Regions from separate parts of the Homo sapiens genome. Here region 2 is linked to region 1. Evidence: promoter capture Hi-C in 16 types of primary human blood cells and fetal thymus (Javierre and others, 2016). All regions are on one chromosome and are shown on one strand. Each heading gives the region's core, a stretch centred on a gene start or on the middle of the fragment in contact. The rest is flanking DNA. Distances are from core to core; before and after follow the strand shown. Region 1 holds the start of INTS15 (integrator complex subunit 15). Region 2 has its middle 30 kb from the start of OCM.

Region 1 (3,197 bases), core at 605-3,104:
TGTTTCTATTTATTAAGAAAAGGAAAAAAACTTCGGAAGAGGGGCTGATAAAATCAATGATACAACGAATATCCTTGTACATCTATTTTTGGGGTTGTATTGTTTTAAGAAAGACATTGATCTCTTTTGTCCATCTGGATTTTATATTGATGAATGAAGTCTGCATTTATTTTATAAATAGCTAACTGGAATAGCACATTTCCTAAGTAAACTTTCCCTTTTCCTTCAGTGTGAACACTTCATTCATCCCACAGGAAACTCTTGTATGTACTGGGATTATTCTGGGCTGCTTCTCAGTGCTGTTTATGTTCAGTTTGTCACATCTGGACACAAGTAGGTGGGCTGAGGAAGCAGCGCTGGTGGCTGTGGCAGGCCCAGGGTTGGCCAGTGTTCACTCTCATGGATGTCACAGTCCAGCTGCCTAAAGCACTACCTTTTCTCTGCTCCTAGTACCTGTTCCTGACTTTTCCACGGATTGTCTTCATGCTGGGCTTTGTCGTGGTTCTGAGCTTCCTCCTGGGTGGCTACCTGTTGTTTGTCCTGTATCTGGCGGCCACCAACCAGACTACTAACGAGTGGTACAGAGGTGACTGGGCCTGGTGCCAGCGTTGTCCCCTTGTGGCCTGGCCTCCGTCAGCAGAGCCCCAAGTCCACCGGAACATTCACTCCCATGGGCTTCGGAGCAACCTTCAAGAGATCTTTCTACCTGCCTTTCCATGTCATGAGAGGAAGAAACAAGAATGACAAGTGTATGACTGCCTTTGAGCTGTAGTTCCCGTTTATTTACACATGTGGATCCTCGTTTTCCAAGCATGGCTTGTTTGTTTTGATTTCTGCTGTGCTTATAAATCACTTTCGGTGGGCAAGGGAGAGAGGGGAAAATGGGTGTTGACTGAGGAATCCCCCTTGCTTGTCTTCTTTTGAAACCGGGCATCTCTGAAGTCCTGGTGTCAAGGGGATCAAGAGATGACTTCTCAGAGGTTCTAGGTGATGCTGAGACCTTGGTGTCTCTAAACTCTGGGCATGTGGACAGGAGGGGCTTGCGGCCGTGTCTCTGACCTGTGTGATGTGCAGGAGGGTCTCATTGACTCAGCGCCTGCGCGTTGTGCCTGGCTGTGCTCTCTTTTATGCCCCCTCTATTCTCCTCTCTCCCCCAGGGGATTTTCATCTCAACAACAGAGTGTCCTCACCCAGGCCTGCCTTCCGGCCAGTATGGGCTTGTACATCAGGCACCTTCCTGCATGTGTGGCCTCCGGCCTGCCCTCCTCTAGCCACATTCAAGTCCTTTCTCACCAGTTTAAAAATTGTGAAAGTGAACTGCCACCTATTTCAGAGGAGACATGACTGCCAGAAACGAGGTCTTGGTGCGGAAGGTCTTTGGAGTGGGAGGGCTCTCAGGTGCAGGTGGCAGGTGTTCTGCACCTTGCTAGGCCAAGGAGCCCGCAGTCAGAGAGGCTGGGAAGTGGGAGTCAGGGGCAGGGGGCCTTCCAGCCATCTTCCCCCGTACCCCCCAGCTGAGAACAGATGGAAACGTGAAGACGGGTAGCTGGGGCGGCCAGGGAACCCAAGTCCGCTGGCCGAAGCCAAAGCCCGGCACCACCCCCAATTCTTGCTGGTGGAAAGCACCGTGAAATCAACCAGCGGCAGCTCTGAACGCGACGCACAGCCCGCGAGGGAGCCTGGGCAAGGACGGAGCGGGCCTGCACCGGCGGTTGGGCGGGCTCCGGGGGCGGGGTCCACCTGGGACCGCGGCGCGCCCCTCACCGCTCGCGCCGCCAGGGGGCGCCCTCCGGAGAGCGCGCCTAGGCCGCGGCCTGCGCTTGGCCCCTGCGGGCCGCCGTCTCCGTGCCCGGCATTCGGCCGCTGTTCGGCTGCGCGGCGGCAGCTCCCGGCGGCTCCTGGCGGCGCCGCAGTCGGACCTTCGGGCGCCTGCTGGCCGGCGGCAGCAGCGATGGCCCCCTGAGCAGGCAGGGAGCAGGCGGCGGCAGGCGGGCAAGCGGGCGGGTGCCGCAGCCCAGGCCCGGGTCGCGCCTCTTTGTTTCCACGGGTAGCGGCGCAGTCCCGGGCCCCGGGCGGAAGTGAGACGCGCTCGGCGCGGGGGCCGCGGCGGCCGCACCATGAGCGACATCCGCCACTCGCTGCTGCGCCGCGATGCGCTGAGCGCCGCCAAGGAGGTGTTGTACCACCTGGACATCTACTTCAGCAGCCAGCTGCAGAGCGCGCCGCTGCCCATCGTGGACAAGGGCCCCGTGGAGCTGCTGGAGGAGTTCGTGTTCCAGGTGCCCAAGGAGCGCAGCGCGCAGCCCAAGGTGCGGCCTGAGACGGTCGGGTTCCCGGGCCCCGCAGGCGGGCGGGCGGGCCTTTTCCCCAGCGATGCAGGGCTGTGTCAAGCCGCGGGCGCCCCATGTCCAGGATCCCCGCGCTCGCGCTCGGCCTCGCTCCTGCAGCAGCCCCCAAACCCTTCTCCGGGTCCTGCAGTGTTGCTCAGCTGCCTGTCCAGTCTGCGGGGCGTGTGACAGCCGAGTCTTGGTGTTAAAGGGACAAACTGGCGACTGCCCGCTCCCTAGAGGTCTGTTGGGCTGTTACCGAAAGGCTCATCCTGAACCCTCCAGGAGGATGTATAATGATCTGTATGGCTTTCTTCTTACATCTTTTTCTTTTTTTTTTCTTTCTCTGCCTTTTTTTTTTTCGAGACAAGGTTTCACTACGTTGCCCAGGCAGGAGTGCAGTGGTGCAATCACAGCTCACTACAACCTTGAACTCCTGGGCTCAAGTAATCCTCCCGCCTCATCCTTCTGAGTAGCTGGGACTCCAGGCGTGCACCACCATGCCCAGCTAATTTTTGAATGTTTTGTAGAGATGGGGCCTCCCTGTGTTACCCAGGCTGGTCTCAAACTCCTGGGCTCAAGATTCTCTCTCCTTGGCCTCCAAAGTGTTGGAATTACAGGCGTGAGCCACAACGCCTGGCCTATATGACTTTTTTCTAAGATCAACAGCAAAGATCTCCCTGAGACCTGAGCTTTACGAAGGGCGAAAAGTTCTACGGGAACTTTACGAAGGGCGAAAAGTTCTACGGGAAAATACTGTTATTTCCTGTTTTTCTTTTTTTTTTTTTTTTTGAGACGGAGTCTCACTCTGTCACCAGGCTGGAGTGCAGTGGTGCGATCTCGGCTCACTGCAACCTCCGCCTCCCAGGT
Region 2 (3,197 bases), core at 286-2,785, 740 kb before region 1:
GAGACCAGCCTGGCCAACACGGTGAAACCCCGTCACTGAAAAATATAAAAATTAGCTGAGCATGCTGGTGATTTTCTGTAATCCCAGTAATCCCAGCTACTTGGGAGGCTCAGGCACGAGAATTGCTTGAGCCCAGCAGGCAGAGGTTGCAGTGAGCTGAGATTGTGCCACTTCATTCCAGCCTGGGCGACAGAGCAAGACTCTGTCTCAAAACAAGTTATATTTCTATATTAGGACTCCATTTTCTGGCAATACGGTGGACCGTCTAAAGTGAAAATCACCGGGGCAGTGGCTCGTGCCTGTGATCTCAGCACTTGGGAAAGTCAAGGTGGACAGGTCACTTGACCCCAGGAGTTCAAGACCAGCCTGGGCAACACGGTGAGACCCTGTCTGTACCAAATACATATATATATTAGCTGGGCGTGGTGGCACGTGCCTGTAGGACCAGGTACTTGGGAGGCTGAGGTGGGAGAATCCCTTGAGCCCAGGAGTTTGAGGCTACAGTGAGCCATGGTCGTGCCACTGCGCACCAGCCTGGGTGACAGTGAGACCCTCTCTCAATAGAAATGAAGTGAAAACCCACTGAAAACAACTGGACATGACGGACAACAACCGCTGACATCCTTTTAGATACATAATTCAGCTCTCAGGAAAATAAGTATCCAGGTGCCAGCTATGTAGAAGGTACTGAAAAACAAAGTCTGTGAGTTGATGCTGTAGCTGTTCTATGGGTTTTTGTTTACTTGGAACTTGAATGTTAAATGGTATAGAAGGGTAAGAAACAAGAACTTGGGGGCTACACAAGACAGAACTGGCCTTGAAATAACTCAGATGCGCAGAACTTTCCACAGGCTGTACATCAAGGGAGACGGCAGACTGGAGACAGAAAGCTTGCCTGTCTGTCCTTGGGCTCTGGGTAGGGCAAGATTTTACCTGGATGAGTCCATGTGCACTGGCCTGCATGTCATCTAAGTTAGAATTTGAACTTGCCCTACTCATGTTCCAATTGAGAAACTGAACAATCAGGCCGGGTGCAGTGGCTGTAATCCCAGCATTCTGGGAGGCTGAGGAGGGTGAATCACCCGAGGTCAAGAGTTTGAGACCAGCCTGCCCAACATGGTGAAACCCCATCTCTACTACAAATACAAAAAGCTGGGCGTGATGGCAGACGCCTGTAGTCCCAGCTACTCGGGAGGCTGAGGCAGGAGACTTCGCTCGAACCTGGGAGGCAGAGGTTGCAGTGAGCCGAGATCGCACCACTGCACTCCGGTTTGGGCAACAAGCAAAACTCTTGTTAAGAAAAAAAGGTAGACACAGCATGAGTCCACTTATATAAGGTACCTAGAATAGTCAAACTGATAAGAGACAGAAAAAAAGTAAAACGTTGGTTATCAGAGCTTGGGGGTAAGGGGGATGGAGAGTGAGGGTTAATGGGGACAGTTTCAGTTTGGGAAGATGGAAAAGTGCTGGAGATGGATGATGGTGATGGTTGTACAATATTTTGTTTTTCTCTTTTTTTTTTTTTTGAGATGGAGTCTCGCTCTGTCGCCCCAACTGGAGTGCAGTGGTGCAATCTCGGCTCACCGCAACCTCCACTTCCCGGGTTCAAGAAATTCTCCTGCCTCAGCCTCCTGAGTAGCTGGGATTATAGGTGCACACCACCATGTCCAGCTAATTTTTGTATTTTTAGTAGAGATGGGGTTTTGCCACGTTGGCCAGGCTGGTCTTGAACTCCTGACCTCCTGCCCGCCTTGGCCTCCCAAAGTGCTGGTGTTATAGGCGTGAGCCACCATGCCCAGCCTGGTTGCACAATATTTTTGATGTAATAAATGCCACTGAATTGTACCCTCAAAAATAGCGAAAATGGCAAATTTTATGTTACGCATATTTTACCACAATTAAAAAAAAAAAAGTGTAGGATCCACTCCCAGCTGGTGCTCTGGCCCTGCCCTGGCCCCACAGTGGAGGAAGGTGCTTCTCTCCCATTAACGTGGACACGCCTTGACCAGGACTTTGAGCGTGTGGTTTTTCCCTTCCCTAGCCCGGGCCTCGGACCTTCTATGACAATCCGCTTTCCTCTTATATGTGATTTTACTTTCCCAGACTGGAACATTTGCTTTCTGTTCACTTTACTGAACAACACTTAGACATCCAACCTCTCTCTGTCCTCTCTCTTCCCTGAAGCTTCCTTGGCACACAACACACCTAGGCAAGCCTGGGTGGGTACAGGAGTGGTTCACTGCATCCCTGGAACAGGCTCAGGGGTTTTCGGGCATAAAGGCCTCCTCCCTGGCTTGATGGTCAACCTGTGCCCAGTGTCACATCCATCAAATGACTTTGTATTTCACAGCTTCTCTTCCACCCCCACTCTCTTGGGAGAGGTCAGGCCCTTCCAGCCCAGAGTGGGGGTCAGTGTGGACCTGGGATTTGATGTATACTCTAAGCTTGGGGAAAAAAAATGGTTAAAAAGTCCCCCAAGGGCAGCAGGAAATCGGGCTCTGGTCCCAGATGCATTTGTGATGAAAGGGATTAGACTCTGCAGCTCCTGTTAAAATCAACCACCGCGTCCATGGGTTGATCCAAGAATTCTGTGCAAAGTCTGTAAAACTCCGTCCTTGGTCTTGCTTGCTTTAATGACAGTCTTTCACATTTTTGTCCTAACATGTTTCTTCTCAGCCTGATTTTTTTAACAAACTGGCAACTTTGAAATGTAAAACAGTGAAATCTAGAATTTTCTCCCAGAGAAAACTTTTCCAGAGAGAACACACACACACACACACGCCCATCAATTGAGAACCATATGCTAAGAGCAACTATGTTTACTTTACAAAAGAATAATGTCTTGGCTGGGCACGGTGGTTCACGCCTGTAATCCCAGCACTTTGGGAGGCCGAGACAGGCAGATCACTTGAGCTCAGGAGTTTGAGACCAGCCTGCGCAACATGGTGAAACCCTGTCTCTACAAAAAAAATTAGCCGGACGTGGTAGCATGTGCCTGCAGTCCCAGCTACTCAGGAGGCTGAGATGGGAGGATCGCTTGAGCCTGGGAAGTGGAGGTTGTGGTGAGCCAAGATTGCGCCACGGCACTCCAGCCTGGGAGACAGAGTGAGATGCTGCCTCAATAACAATAATCACAACATCTTGAAATAACCGTTTCTGTCTCTTTCTTGCCACTGGAGACAGAAGAGTTAGCCAGG

The links. The method cuts DNA at HindIII sites, captures the fragments that hold promoters and counts their contacts. A CHiCAGO score of 5 or more calls a contact.
Region 2: a fragment that was not itself captured here is called in contact with the fragment with the promoter of INTS15 in region 1 in 1 of 17 cell types (erythroblasts); the score reaches 5.0 in erythroblasts.

Annotation. Positions count from the first base shown.
Region 1 is chr7:6,588,167-6,591,363 of GRCh38, forward strand. It overlaps INTS15 (integrator complex subunit 15), which reads left to right and starts at 1,855. Exons shown (of 6, transcript NM_024067.4): 1 at 1,855-2,309. The coding sequence starts at 2,118. It overlaps ZDHHC4 (zDHHC palmitoyltransferase 4), which reads left to right. Exons shown (of 8, transcript NM_001134389.2): 8 at 451-1,208. The coding sequence ends at 744. LOC124901582 (a long non-coding RNA gene) reads right to left here and starts at 1,738. Exons shown (of 2, transcript XR_007060201.1): 1 at 1,294-1,738; 2 at 757-1,059. RefSeq lists enhancers at 997-1,835, 1,460-1,609 and a silencer at 1,680-2,179. The HindIII fragment of the contact is 9,756 bases long and covers 1-3,197 here.
Region 2 is chr7:5,849,139-5,852,335 of GRCh38, forward strand. It overlaps the pseudogene ZNF815P. Among named protein-coding and RNA genes, the nearest start is that of OCM, 30 kb to the right of the region's middle. The HindIII fragment of the contact is 1,294 bases long and covers 889-2,182 here.